Linked DNA regions of Homo sapiens: regions 2 and 3 are each linked to region 1. The links are contacts of gene promoters, found by promoter capture Hi-C in blood cells and fetal thymus (Javierre and others, 2016). All regions are on one chromosome and are shown on one strand. The core of a region is centred on a gene start or on the middle of the fragment in contact, and the rest is flanking DNA. Distances in the headings are between cores, read along the strand shown.

What was found. The method cuts DNA at HindIII sites, captures the fragments that hold promoters and counts their contacts. A CHiCAGO score of 5 or more calls a contact.
Region 2: a contact is called between a fragment that was not itself captured here and the fragment with the promoter of METTL14 in region 1, in 3 of 17 cell types (endothelial precursors, megakaryocytes and M0 macrophages). The highest score is 5.5, in endothelial precursors.
Region 3: a contact is called between a fragment that was not itself captured here and the fragment with the promoter of METTL14 in region 1, in 3 of 17 cell types (fetal thymus, total CD8 T cells and total B cells). The highest score is 7.5, in fetal thymus.

The regions. Positions count from the first base shown.
Region 1 is chr4:118,683,361-118,688,280 of GRCh38, reverse strand. It overlaps METTL14 (methyltransferase 14, N6-adenosine-methyltransferase non-catalytic subunit), which reads right to left and starts at 2,889. Exons shown (of 11, transcript NM_020961.4): 1 at 2,681-2,889; 2 at 270-358. The coding sequence starts at 2,746. It overlaps METTL14-DT (METTL14 divergent transcript), which reads left to right and starts at 2,940. Exons shown (of 7, transcript NR_125930.1): 1 at 2,940-2,976; 2 at 3,814-3,873. RefSeq lists enhancers at 2,351-2,490, 2,671-2,930. The HindIII fragment of the contact is 9,570 bases long and covers 2,438-4,920 here.
Region 2 is chr4:118,888,167-118,893,086 of GRCh38, reverse strand. SYNPO2 (synaptopodin 2) reads right to left here and starts at 4,233. Exons shown (of 5, transcript NM_133477.3): 1 at 3,946-4,233. The coding sequence starts at 4,050. The HindIII fragment of the contact is 3,314 bases long and covers 788-4,101 here.
Region 3 is chr4:118,847,571-118,852,490 of GRCh38, reverse strand. It overlaps a transcript of SYNPO2 not described here. Among named protein-coding and RNA genes, the nearest start is that of SEC24D, 14 kb to the right of the region's middle. RefSeq lists an enhancer at 1,818-1,887. The HindIII fragment of the contact is 236 bases long and covers 2,017-2,252 here.

The DNA.
Region 1 (4,920 bases), core at 1,640-4,139:
ATTTTTAGTAGAGATGGGATTTCACCATGTTGGCCAGACTGGCCTCGAACTCCCGACTTCCTGGGCTCAAGTGATCCACCTGCCTCGGCACAGTGGCTCATATCTGTAATCTCAGCACTTTGGGAGGCCAAGGCAGGTGTACCACTTGAGCCCAGGAGTCAAGGCTGCAGTGAGCCATAATCATGCTACTGTACTCCAGCCTATCCAGCCTAAGCAACAGAGTGAAACCCTGTCTCAAAAAAAAAAAAAAAAAGAATTATCTGACTGACCTGCAAGTTTCTCTTGTTTCAGCAATTTCTCTCTGCTCATCTTTGCTATTTAACACGGCACCAATGCTGTCGGCACTTTCAGCTCCCAACTGAGAAAAGACAAAATCAGAAATTAGATTGCAATGCACTGGATAGCCTTTCTGGGCATTTGTAGCAGCATTTAATACATTAAATACTTAAAAAACAAAAACACCTTAATTCACACACACACACACACACACAAAACAATGAATTAATCAGCTTGCAAGACAAACTGGAAAAACTCTGGAAAAAAACCGCATTAATTAAGATGAGTTTGACAGCTGGCAAAACATTTTATGCTTTCAGTTATACAGCGGCTCCTTGATTTATGATGAGGTTATGTCCTGATAAACCCATTGTAAGTTGAAAGTAAATCTGTTTCAAAATAAACGTTGTAAGTGTGTTTTCAAGTTACAATATTTTCCACTTATGATGGGTTTATCAGAACACAACTCCACCGTAAGTCAATGAGCAGCCTGGATGCCTATCACTCTCAAACCATCATAAAGTCAATTGTTAAGTCAAATGATAGTAAGTCTGGAACCATCTGTATTTGAAAATAAGACACTTTAGCCAATTTCCTGTGAAGCAATACACACGATTTAATATAAAATGAGCATTCCAAATCTGAAAATCCAAAATCCAAAACGCTCCAAAATCTGGAACTTTTTGAGTACTGACATGACATTCAAAGGAAATGGTCACTGAAGCATTCCGATTTTGAGTTTTGGTATTTGGCATGCTCAACCAGTAAGTAATATGCAAATATTCCAAATCCTGAAAAAAATCTGAAATCCAAAACACTTCTGGCCCAAGCATTTCAGATAAGAGATATTCAACCTGCAATAGCAATAACTAAAAAAGGCAGATAAGACAGTGTTTGCACAGGGTTGTGGGTACCATGTTAAACATTTTGTAGGCATCAGCTTATATAACTTATTTATTCTATGCTCTAATAAAAATCGATCCAGTTTTACTCAAGCTAAGTCTTACTATTTATAGACACAAGGCTGAACTTTACTACCTTAAAATGGTAACATAAATTTTGTTTGGCAGTTTGGAAAATTTTGCAAAATACAAACAAATGTAAACAAATAATGGTTATAAGGCTGGCTAAGTAGAGTGCAACCAATTCATAAAAGACTTTAAAAGGTAGAGCCCCTGGCATCTGCTGAGTGTAAAACACTAAACAAATAATTGTCCTATGAATGTATATTGAGTCAAATAGAAGTTTGAATTCAATATTAAGGAGTAAAACGTCTTCTGTGGTAGCAACAAAGAGCTACTTAACATTTTTGAAGATAATACGATAAAAGAAGTTGGCGAAAAGAAGACTTAGAAAGGATACTTGATTTGCCCAAGATCGTAATGCCAGCGGGATAAGGAACAAAGGAACAAATCTGACTCCAAGTTTCCACGGTTTTAGCCATATTCCACAAATCTGTTCATCAGACCATAAAGAGGATAGGTTTCAGAAGTCCATTTACTAAAACCAAGTTTCATTACTGAAAAATAACTGCAAGATGACTAATTACACTCTATGAGCATTGCTCCTATCACTTTTACTGATCTGAATAGTAGAATGGAAAATACAGCCTCGATTTTAAGTAGAACTGTGCACAATCTGTATTTTCTGCATGTGCACTCTACTAATCAGCAAATGTTAACTTACTCATACACAAGAAAGAAGTGAAGGACAATGGTTTAGAAGACAAGCTTTGGGGAGACAAACCTAGGTTCTATTTCCCAGCAGAGAAGTGAGCGACCAGGAGTAAAATTCCTTAACGTATGGAGCCTTTTTCATTACTTGATAAGTGAAGGTAATAATACCTGTTTCAGGAGATTATTGTGACTAACACAGAGTAAGATTTCAAATATTAACTGTGGATGTGACAAGGATACTCTATATAAGATGCAGAATCTAAAATTTACACTCAGGCTACTTCCAGTGTTGTCTTCAGAAAGATGTCAAAGAAAATACTGTAAACGTATTTCATAATGAAACCACAATCTCAAGAATTTGGGGCTGACGACGAAGAAAAGAAAGAAATAGATGACCATTTAATAGTGAAGAGAAATGTAGGGGATAACATGACACTCATCCTGGCGTGAACATGCCAGACACTCGGTGGGAGTTCCACAAAGCTTAAAGGCTAATCCTGGCATTCGGTTTAGCACCACAAAGACCGCGGAAGGAACTGGAAAAACATTCGGGACACCGCGAAAATTGAGAACTACAAAGGCAGAACCAGGGATCAAGATCGCAGGACCAGAAAGGCCTTAACAGCGGCAGGTAGAGAAGGGACAGAAAAAGGCGGGGTGTGGAGGGAGGAGGCGGCCGCGCACTCGCATTCTCGATCCCTCCCACAGGGGACACCAGGGCCGCGGACCTGCTGCGCGAGGAGCTGTCGCCGTAACTTCTGCCGCTCCCGGATCTCCTGCAAGCGGCTATCCATGTTCCAACTCCGGCTTTTCACTATCCCGAGTACTTGTCAATCTCCAGTGAACTCTTATCCAACCTTTCTTCCGAGTCTGTGGAACAAAATTCACCGGGAGCTTACGAACAGAGTATCCTCATAGCTTTCCTCAGTAGAGACTTCCGGCGCGGCCGGAATTGGCTCGCTTGGCCCGGAAGTCCCGCCTCCTTCTGGACGCTTGCTATGTGACGCCACTTGGAAGGGACCCAGTAAGGGATCTGTTGCGCCACAGGGGTCTCCAGGGCCCTCGCAGGTTGGGGTGGTCTGAGCTAGTCTGAAGGAGGACAGTCAGCTGACTTCTCCTTTATCTCTCTTTCCCAGGATAGCAGGTTCCCTTGGTGTATTACAGTTTCTGAAGTGTTGATTCCCTTTTCAATTGATTCCACAGATGACAGTCCTGACGTTTAAAAAATTGCCAGATAACCTTTAATTTTTTTTTTTTTAACAGAACACAAACTTAAGCCAGATTGCCTAGGATTGAACCTTGGCCTCTCACTTCCTAGACGAGTGGCCTTGGCTAGTTAACCACCTTCGTGAGCCTCAGTTTTGTCATCTGTAAAATGGGAGTCATAAGTGTCTACCTCACAGAGCTGTGATTGAAAGGATAAATAGCACCTTGCACATAGCGGTGTAGAAGTGCTTGTTATTGTTAATATTTTATTTACCTTCACGCAGGTAACAGCCACAACATCTGCCCACTCTTCCCCACACCTTACTGTCCCTTGAAATGTTTCCCATTTTACTATAGTATGCATTTTTTGGCTTCTTCCCTTTAGGGAAATGAGTATGTGATAGTAAAGCGTGTCTTGGTTTATGTCCTAGGAGTCAGAAGCTAAGAGACTCCTTTTTGTGCTTGTACATTTGTCTTAACTGAAAATAACCCAAGGATAAGGAAACAAATAGCTTCCTGAAATTACTCGGATTGCGGGGGTGAGGGGTGAGGGCTGGGGGGTGGTGATTCTGTCTTCATAGGATGGCAGCAAAGGCCAAAGTCTTATTTGAGTTATTACCATTATTATTCACCACACTTGCCATCTTATTTCAAGCCTACAGTGGCGGAAGTGGAGTAAGACATCATGTTGCCTCAAGTTTAATTGGAAATCGCGGTAAGTACTTAACAAAATTAGTAATAAGTCTGTTCTTTCAGAGTAGATTTAATTTTCAGAAATAATATTAAGTCATCCAGATCAAAACCAGTTGAGTCAGGCTGGGCCAAAAGTGGGCAAGACTAGATTCTACTTAGTCATGCCCACTTTTATAGAAATAATTATAATGTATTTCCGAAGAACTAGGTCTGAAAGACAATTTTGAACAAGTAGTCCTAAACAATTCCTTGAGTAATGTCAGCACTACTTGGATACTGTAAAATATTTATGTCCATATGAGTTAAAGTGTATTTCTTTAAAAATCAGTTGTATTATCTGGCAATCATTTAAGTTGAATACTGATTTAAATTTTACCAATGGTGAGAATAGGCAATTATTCACTTAAATATCTGTTGATATTGATTGAGCATTTTATATGGCAAGCACTGTGATAGGCCCTAGAGTCTATAAAGTCTGTCAAAGATTAAAAACTAAAGTCGGTTTTTCTTTATGAGTTTACTGTCTAATGGAGGATTTTTCTTTTTCCTGATAAGTTGCTATGCAGGTTACTTGCTTGTAATCTTTGAACCCCATACTCACCTACCCTCTGCTTCGAGATGATGGCTAGGCAGGGAGTCCACAAACTACATTTCCCAGCCTTCCTTGTTAGATGGCTTCCTGTAAGACTCTGCCCACAGGAGGCACAGGCAGGAAATCAAAAGGTGGAACATGGGAAAGCTATTGTCCATTTATTTTACTCTCTGCTTCTGGCATCTAGAGCGATGACTATGTCCCTTACAAAGTCTAGAGCCAGTTGGAGCAGCCCCTCCTTTCCTTACCTTAAGAAAGTGACACCCTTAACAGTGAGTGAGTTTGCTCTTGTGCTATGATACTACTACTTCTACCTTCTGTTCCACCAGCTCAAGGACTGGTAGCCATCCTGCAGTTTAAAATTTCTGATTTAATCTTACTTCTCCCTTTTTGCTCTTCTAGCCTTCAATATCTGCTTAACTATTTCTCCATAGTGAATGGCGTCTGTTTAAAATACTTTTAATTATTTGTTTTCCT
Region 2 (4,920 bases), core at 1,195-3,694, 210 kb before region 1:
AGGAAGGAGCATTTATTCTCAAGTATACATATTCAAACACATTAAAATCTTTTTCCCCCTTTAGAAATACCTATGTTTCTGGAATTCTTCTATTTGAAACATTTTAAAAACCTTACTGATGGCACTAAGGGATAAGAATTATATTATCTGAAATGTGCTTTGTGTAAATAATACATTTTTATTCAAAATCTTAAAGAACACATATCCAATAATAGATAAGAATTATTAAATTCATTTTGGCCTTATGAAATGAAGGATTATACAATGTCACCTCAATTTTAATGAACAATTATTTGAAACTTTGAACTAAATTCAGTAGAACACATACTATAGTGGTGCATAAGATTTGAAGAAAAAATAAATTTCTAACTATATTAAAACATATAAAGGATAAACAGTCTGAACATTTTTTTCTTAATTATTTTCAAAATGTGAGTAATTTTTCAATTGCAGGTAAGATTTTTTGTAAAACAAAAATTTCTCCCCACTCCTTTATATGAGGATTTTTCAAAGTGATTTGCCAAAAGTATGTCCTGAGACAGGGCCAGATAAGTACATGTCCCAAAAGAGAGAGTTTCATAAAGAAGAAGTGCTCACATTCTTTTTGTAAAGCTATCTGCACACACAGTGGGGTTTTCTGTTTGGATAAATTTGTTTCTGTTTATAATCTCTTGAAAATATACTTTGCAGAGTGTTATGCTATAACTCAGTGTTAGAAATGTTTGCCTCCCATCACATATATTTAGAATATAAATTAAAAGATATACAAACATTTTAAAAACAAGCTTATGTTACTGATTACTTGGGCTTTTAAAAATTTGGTTTATTTTTTAAAACAAAACAGATTTTCGTGCCATTGAGCTTAACCGTCAATGACAAGTTTTGATAATGAATATTCCTGTTATTTATCTTTAAAATTTGGGGTTTGCGTATAGTTCAACCAGCTAACCAAATACTAAACATGTTTGAACATATCTCAGAAGTGACTAAATATGTCAATATAAGGATATTTATCGGGAATTATAAAGTTATTCAATTTTTTATTGTTCTTAATAACATTAGACTGTTTTTTTGCACTATTTCTGCCTGTTAGATTTTTACTCTATATAGAATTATGAAAAACCTAAATATGTAGATATTTCACAAAAAGCCAAAATGTGTTATTGTCTACAGAACTGCTTTGTAGCATTCCCATTTTAAGGAGCATGGTTCAAGCACTCGCCGAAATTTTCTTTTCTTTGAAAATTTAAGTTTTCCTTCAACTCCCAAATTAATTTTGTGCATGTTATTCAAAACTGTGAACATTTGATTTGACAGCAACCATCTCTCTAGCCTTTCTGTCTCTTTCCTTGCATCCAGCCCTAATAAGCTATCACCAGTCCTTACAAGAAGAGAAAGTTTATGCCCAAGCAACATTCACTTTGCCTTGAACACATTGAGATACCATGAATAGAATTGAATTGACTTAATATTTTAAATAAAATACAGTGATCCTAATGAGGCAATGGCCTTGATAACAGAGAAAGTGATAAGCGCTTTGTTCCAAGGGATTTCTCCCACAAATAATGCTAGTATAAGAAATCAAACATAATCATTTGAACTAAAAAAAGAAAAAGACCAACAAAAATTGTGCATTGCCACAGTAATTTAGAACTTACATCTTCTATAGATAGCTCTTTAGTCTTTTTAACGTATGGACAAAAGGTAGACTGTAGACTACAGTCTGTCTCTCTCTCTCTCTTGCACACACAAACACACAAAAATTAAGGCAAACTTCCAGATACTTTTATAATGATATTTTAAAATCTATAGCTCTAAGTATAGTATCACAAACTACAAAAGCAAAGCAAACATCTAGATGCCTTAATAATGATCTTTTGAAAACCACAAATGTATTGCTGGGTATTTTAGGAAGGATGATTTAGGGGGAGTGTAGGACTGGATTCTGACATAGCCTAACAACCTTACTGAATCCTGAAAATAGAGATGCCATTAGCAGAGAATCTCCACAGCACCCTTTCCTAGCAATCTGCTTCAGCTCTTCAGTGAATCGCCGCAAAGAGGTCCCACATTGAAATCGTCACATGCAGAACTCAGAAGAAACCCACTACCCACTCTATTCTTGAGGCCTGGCTGCCAAAGAGCCACCAGAGAACAACAGCACTCAGCCACTCTGTCCCCATATTTCAATTAGTAGGCAAGCGATTCTAAAACTGTACACTATCAGGATCGTAGAATACTTGGGCAAGACAGAGCTTCGTAGACTGCACAGTCCAATTTCTTTCTTACTTCTTTACCACCTAAGTTAAAATATTTGTCTCTCTCTCCCTACACACACACACACACACACACAGAGAGAGAGAGAGAGAGAGAGAGAGAGAGAGAGAGAAACCGATGAGACAGGAAGGGTGAGAGATTTTCCTAAGGCCAGGCTGCAAGTTAGATCAGAGCTGGAATTAGAACCCAAATCTCATACCTAGAGCCAGCCAACTGCTATTCTAGACTCAGGACAAATCTGCTTCAGTGTCATGAATTCTACATATGCTAAATTGGGCATTCATATTTTATCTGAGGTTGCCTGCTATTGACTCCTAAAGGAACCCAACAAAACCACCTTTCTGAGCCTTTAATCACTCTGCCAGTTCCAAGCTGAAAACTTAAGGCAAGTTACTTAACATCTCTGGGCTCTTTCCTCATCTAAAATTCATGGGTTGAACTGCAGACCTCGGAGGAACTTTCCAGTAATAAAAACTCTGCTTTTCATCTACTGTTTTATGGTTCATTCTTGATGTTTGCAATTTTCACTAGGTGGCAGGATTCCACCATCACATTACGAAAGGATTTACATATGATGCCTGGAAGCAAAAAGGAGTTTCAAAGAAACTTCTTTCTTCGCAAAGGACACTAAAAAAAAAAAAACGTAAAAGGCAGAGGGAAACAATAACTACAAAAAAAAAAGAGTAAAAGCCAGAGGGAAACAAACAATAACTACAAAGGCAATGGCCCATGTATTTCATAAAGATCTGTACCCATTTTTAATATAAGCATAAAATAGGAAATTAATCCCATGCTCTTGCATGTTCTTCAATACAATACTATAATTTGCAATTTGATGATAAGGTTAGGTAAAAGTTTGCTTAGTTTTGTGCATTTTAAGTTTTATTTTAGCTGAATGCCAATTAGAGAATACCAGATCCCCTTGGGCTAACCAGTAATGCAGGCAATCTAATGGCAATAAAAACTTAAAGCATTTTAAATAGTTATTAATGTGTTACAAAGTTACCTCTTAGTTACTCATAATATATTTAGATTATCTTCTAAGTTTATTTTTGAGATCTTGACCAAAAGAGTACATAAGAAGGAATACAGCATTTATTGGATTTTTGCATTTATTTGTCAAATCCTTAAAAGGGTATTCTTTTAAATAGATTTTATGACACTTCATCATACTTTTAAAATTATTGCCCAACATTGGCCTTTTCATGAATGCTGCATAATAAATGTCACTACCAACACTCTATATGAGTCCCCAAAATAGCCAAGCAAAGTCGTTATGCTGAACTGAGCGTTTCTCCTCTGCCAGAGCCAAGTGAAGTGACATCAAACAATAACTCAACTGAACATTCTAAAATTGCCTGGAAGAAACGCTCCCCAGTGTCTTGCTTGTTGTCAGAAGAACATGGTTAACTAGGCCTTTTCCTCAGCTGATAAATATGGCATTCTTCCCACCCACCCCTCATCGATTGCAAGTTAATTACATAGGATGTGGCCCATTACTCTCCAAAGTTTCTTAGAAAATAACTCACTTCCTAGAAAAATCTTAATATCCGCAGCAAAATCAAATAATACTTAGACTTCTGCATCAGAACCTGAAAACACCATCAGCAGGTTGCTTTCATTCCTTCCTTCCTAGCACAGAGCCGTGACACTTCGTTCAGGTCCTACCTTTGCAACTTGTAAGGGCTGCTTCTGCTCCTTGCCACCTTGCAATCTGAACCCCCAGGGCGCCCCTCCAGTCATGGAAATGCAGATAAAATCCCCTGTGCCCATGTTTTCCTTTTAGTTGGGCAGCATGAAGAGCTTGACGAGACAGACGAAGCTTGGGTGCGGTAGAGGATGCGCACTCAGCTTCGGGCGCCTGCCGAGGACGCAAGACTGGGTAATGCAGAGCGTCCGCCGCTGCTGCAGCCGCTGCCCCAGCCGCCGCCCCAGCCGCCTGCTGCGAATTTGTGCGGCTAATGGGCTCATTCTCAAGGAGGCAGAGGCGCTCGCAGCATCCAGGACACAGCCCACTCTTGCGTCACTCTCCTTTGCTCGGCCCACCTTCGAGGAAAGGAAAGCAGCTTCACACACAGGAGAATGTCCTCACGTGGGGCGAGATAAGGGAAAGGAGGACGGAAGGGAGAGCCAAAGTTATCTTGCACTAACAGATTAAATCCAAGCAGTTAATGGTATAAGTATGATTGAAAAACTTACATTTAATAATTCTGTAAATAGTAAAGGACACATGAAGGTTTAATCTCCACGCCATGAATGACGTCCTAAAATAGGAGCGTTGGGAATTCAACTACTAGAGGATTAGATTCTCTCAAATAAATGTTTTGAGACTTGCCACATTTATGAATGGAATAGACAAAAAAGAGTTAAAATGAGTTAAATTACTACTTTTCTGTCTGCATTCTGCTGAATTATTCCTATAAGAGGAAACAAAAGAAAGCACAAACTTTTTGTTAATAAACCTCCAGCTCTGAAAAGTACCTTTCTGAACCATATATTTAGAGAAAGGGGAAGAGAAGAGACAGAAAGGGAGAGAGAAAGAGAGAAAATGAATATGAATTTTTCTCCTGGAAACTACATTCTTATAATTACATCTATTGCATAGTTTTGGGTATGTTAAATTTTAACGTGTTTTGTTTTCTT
Region 3 (4,920 bases), core at 885-3,384, 160 kb before region 1:
ATCTGTCACTGATGGGCATTTAGGTTGATTCTATGTCTTTGCTATTGCGAATACTGCTGTAATGAACATACGTGTGCGTGTTTCTTTATGATAGAATGATTTATATTCCTTTGTATATATACTCAGTAATGAGATTGCTGGGTCAAGTGGTATTTCTGTCTTTAGGTCTTTGAGGAATCACCACACTGTCTTCCACAATGGTTGAACTAATTTACACTCCCACAGACAATGTATAAACGTTCCTTTTTCTCCACAATCTCTCCAGGATCTGTTATTTTTTCTCTTTAACAACAGCCATTCTGACTAGTGTGAGATGGCAGCTCATTGTGGTTTTGATTTGCATTTCCCTAATGGTCCGTGATATTGAGCTTTTTTTATACGGCAAATCAATATTTTCTAAGTGACAAATGTGTGATGTTGCAAAATCATTCAAATTCACCAAATTGTATGATAGACCAATGAATTTTAATATAACAGTTAGAAAACTTTCTTGCTATGGTTTCAGATTCCACATTGCAATTAACCTCTAGGGAAAAAAAAAACTCTTGCTGAGTTTTGGTGTGGTATCAAAGAATATCCACAGTTTTCTGAAAAGACTATTAAAATATGCCCTTTCCCCCACCAACTACATCCCTGTATGAGAGTGGATTTTTTTTCCATACTTCCACCAAAATGGTACATCACAATAGATTGAATATAGAGGTGGTTATGATAATCCAGCTGTGTTCTATTAAGCAAGACATTAAAGAGATTTGAAAAAATGTAAAATAATGCCACTATTCTCACTACATTTTTCTGTTTTAAAAAATACAGTATTTTTAATCAAAATGTTACTTACATTGACATGCAATGACATTATTGCTATTTTAAATAAGTTAATAAATATTGTAACAATGAGTTTTAATTGTTTTATTCCATAATATCGATAGCTATATCTTATATAAGCAAAAGCACAAAACTCTTTGGGATCCTCAATCTTCGTTTTTGTTTTTTGTTTTTTTTTGAGATGGAGTTTTGCTCTTGTTGCCCAGGCTGGAGTGCAATGGTGCAATCTCGGCTCACCGCAACCTCTGCCTCCCAGGTTCAAGCGATTCTCCTGCCTCAGCCTCCCAAGTAGCTGGGATTATAGGCATGCACCACCACGCCAGGCTAATTTTGTATTTTTAGTAGAGACGGGGTTTCTCCGTGTTGGTCAGACTGGTCAATCCTCAATCATTTTTAAGAATGTCAAGGGTTCCTGAGACCAAAAAGTTGTTGAAAGACTGTCTTAAATAATGTAATTGTATTCAATTTCATGATGCTGGGGTTACTAGGACAATGTGAGGAAGAAAGATCGTGATAACAGTCAGGAAAGTTCTGACGAAAGACCTGGTATTCCACTAAGACTCTGAAAAGTGAGTAGGATTTTAAAACTCCTTTTGAAAAGATGAAAGGTATGAGTAAAAGCTGAGAAACAGTGAAGCACCTGATATTCGCAGGCAATAATGAGTAATGAGTTCAGGTGATTGAAATATAAAGAGGACACCATTCATCTCTGCTTCTCTTCCTACCTGTGTAACCATTCCTCTTGTCTCATCTCTTTTGTGGGAGGCTTTTCTTCCTTTCTCATTCCTCAAATATTGATGCTTCCTGCAGTTCTGTCCTTGGATCTCTCTTCTCACTCTATATGACAGTCTCCCTCACCAATCTGATCCATCCTCAAGATTGGAGCTTCGCTTCCGAGTTGCCGAATTCAGATCTTTACTTCACCTTCTCTCCTGAGCTCCAGAGCAACATGTTCTGAATATTTTGAAGGCAACAAATTGAAAGTGAAACAAACGTTTTCCTGCAAAGCACTCTCTTCCTGTATCCTCTTTCTTGGCCCCTCCCCACCCAGCACATCACCTTAGTTTCCATTCTCACCTTCCTCCACCTCATACATTCAATTGGATGGCCCTCTATTAACACTGTTCCTTGTTTTTTTTTCTATATTATCGTGCTGTTTTCTTAGTTCTTTTTGCCCTAGTCTCACAAGCTTCCATTCCATCCTCTACATTGCTGCCAAAACCAATAGTACAAAAGCAACAGATCATGCTGTTTTCCTGTTTTGAAACCTTTTGATGCCTCCCTCCAGGATAAATCACTAACACCTCAATGGTACTTAAACTGCCATTCATTATCTGGCCCTTGATTACATCTTCATACTGTTGCTTGGTGGGGCCCCTCCTCAGCCATGACAAACATGTTCCTTGCTCCTGCCATATCAAAAAGCTTGCAGTTCCCCCTAGATCTCCAGGTTGCTTTACATTTCTATGCTCTTGTTTAGGTGCTTTCTCTTCCAGGAATGCCCTTTCCTGCTCTACCAACAAAGAATAACAATCACTTTCCGGATTGTTCTCAAGATGTTTTCTCTAAGAACCCATCTCTTCACTTTGGGTTAAACAGTATATTTAACTTATTTTAATACAAACATCTTGAAAATGATTACAAAATGTCCTCAATTTAGGAAGATTCCACAAAAGTGATACAGTTAATAAAAATCATACTTTGAATTTTGAATTTTGATTTTTTCCCAGAGTGCGATACACAGTGTAATGCTACTCTCTTGCAGGATGTTGGGCAGTGGCAGTAAGTTGCAGCTCCCAGTTAGCCAAATGATCTTGAGGTTAAACACCCTGTAATATACAGTGTACTGTGCTGCTAGATGATTTTGCCCAACTTTAGGCTAATACAAGTGTTCTGAGCACATTTAAGGTAAATTAGGCTAAGCTATGTTTGATAGATTAGTTGTCTTAAATGCATTTTTGACTTATGATATTTTCAACTTACAATGGATTTATCATGACATAGCCCCATCTTAAGTCAAGGAGTGCCTGTATTTGCATTTGAAATCTATTTCTAATACTATTTTAATCCACTTCTCCTCTCTACACCCAGAGAAGATGAATTCTCCTTCCAAGCACAAAATACTACGGTATGAGGCATTTTATGTAGACTCACATTATGTTAAATAAAGAGCAAAGAAAACCCAAATGTCTCACAGAAAGTACCAAATTTGGTATTTCTTCTTACATTCCAACATATAACCTGGCAAACAAAGAGTTAGGGTTTATAAAACACAAGTCCAGTATACAAAGCATGTATTATGCCCTTTAAAAACTTGTTTCACAAATTATTTAATATTGCTAGAATTCCTTGAATATTATGCAAATTTAGTTGTTTTTTTTTTTTTAAGAGATTTGACATTTCTTTAACAGGGATGTTGTTTTGTGAGGTTTCTTTCCCCAGAGCCAACTTTCTAGTCTTTTATTTTAACATAGCTGGTCATTCACAGTTCTTTTGAAAAAGGATTAAAATTCTTAAGACCAACATCATGGCCCTATTTGCCATCCCCTGAATTCAAGTGATATCAGTGTTAGTTACAGATAAGCCTGCCAGAGACTTACTTCATGATTGGCTCAAATCCCCATAATCAGTGAGCCCTTGCAGTTTTCAGTGAAAAGTATAGAAACTTGGAAGTGTGTTTTATGAAAAGGGTGTTTTAGAAAAAATGGGATATTCTTAGTTTATAAAGCACCTTCAATTAATTTATCTACACATGACATTGCATATGAACTCGTAGTGATCTAAACTTCATTAGGTTTTCTAATTCTAGTACTAAAAATAATCTATAAGAAGAATTTTGTCAAATAAAAGATTTATAATAAGTGATATAAGCAAGGAGGTTGTTCTCATACTTAAATCCTCATTGTGCTCTGTTTTCCTGGTCTTAAAGGCAGAATGCTGGCACAATATTCTTAGTAAGGTGCCTAGAGATCACATCAATAGGTGTTGCCTAAACACAGAGCCAGAGATAACTTGTTCAAGGCAAATTTGGGCCACGTACAGTGGTTCACGCCTGTAATCCCAACACTCCGGGAGACAGTGGTGGGAGATCACTTGAGCCCAGGAGTTTGAGACAAGCCTGGGTAACATGGCGAGACCCCAGCTCTACAGAAAATTTTTAAAAATTAGCTGGGCGTGGTGTTGCGCACCTGTGGTCCCAGCTACTTGGGAGGCTGAGGTGTGAGGACTGCTTGAGCCCAGGTGGTAGAGGCTGCAGTAAGCCGTGTTCATGCCACTGTACTCCAGCCTGGGCAACACAGCAAGACCCTGTCTCAAAAAAAAAAAAAAAGACAAATTTGGACAGAGATGTATATAAATTACTGAGGAGATGCAGAATATTCATAGTTTTTATAGATTTTATCAATAGGATATTATCTTACTTTTAGAAATGATGAATGATACTTCTATATATAAAGACTCCATGTCTATCCATTCATCCTAAGAGCAGAAACAATAATCACAAAGGCAGGGGAGGCATCATTTATTTGCTACTGGGAGGATTCAGTGACATTGGATTTCTAGTAAGCTTGTTATGGTCATGATGCTTTTCAGTAACTTGTAAGCACTATATTCATGAAAGCAGGGAGCTGATTTTTTTAAAAGGACTAGTAGAGGAAGACAAGAAATAAGAAAACAAGACAGAAATTACAGAAGAAAGAAAGAGATGTGAAAATCATCTGAGAAATTAGTCAACATCTGTGGAGACTATATAGGAATATAAAAGTTAGGGTCCTTAATATTAAGAATAAAAAATATTAAGACTTGCTGAAGGCTGGATGTGGTGGTTCATGCCTGTAATTCCAGCATTTTGGGAGACTGAGGCAGGAGGATTATTTGAGCCCAGGAGTTTGAGACCAGCCTGGGCAACATAGTGAGACCCCCATCTCCACAAAAAAAAAAAAAAAAAAAAAATTAGCCAGGCAAGGTGGTGGGCACCTGTGGTCCCATCTGCTTGGGAGACTGAGGTAAGAGGACAGCTTGAGCCTGGGAGTTTGAAGCTACAGTGAGCCATGATCTCCCCACTGCACTCCAGCCTGGGTAATAGAGTGAAACCTG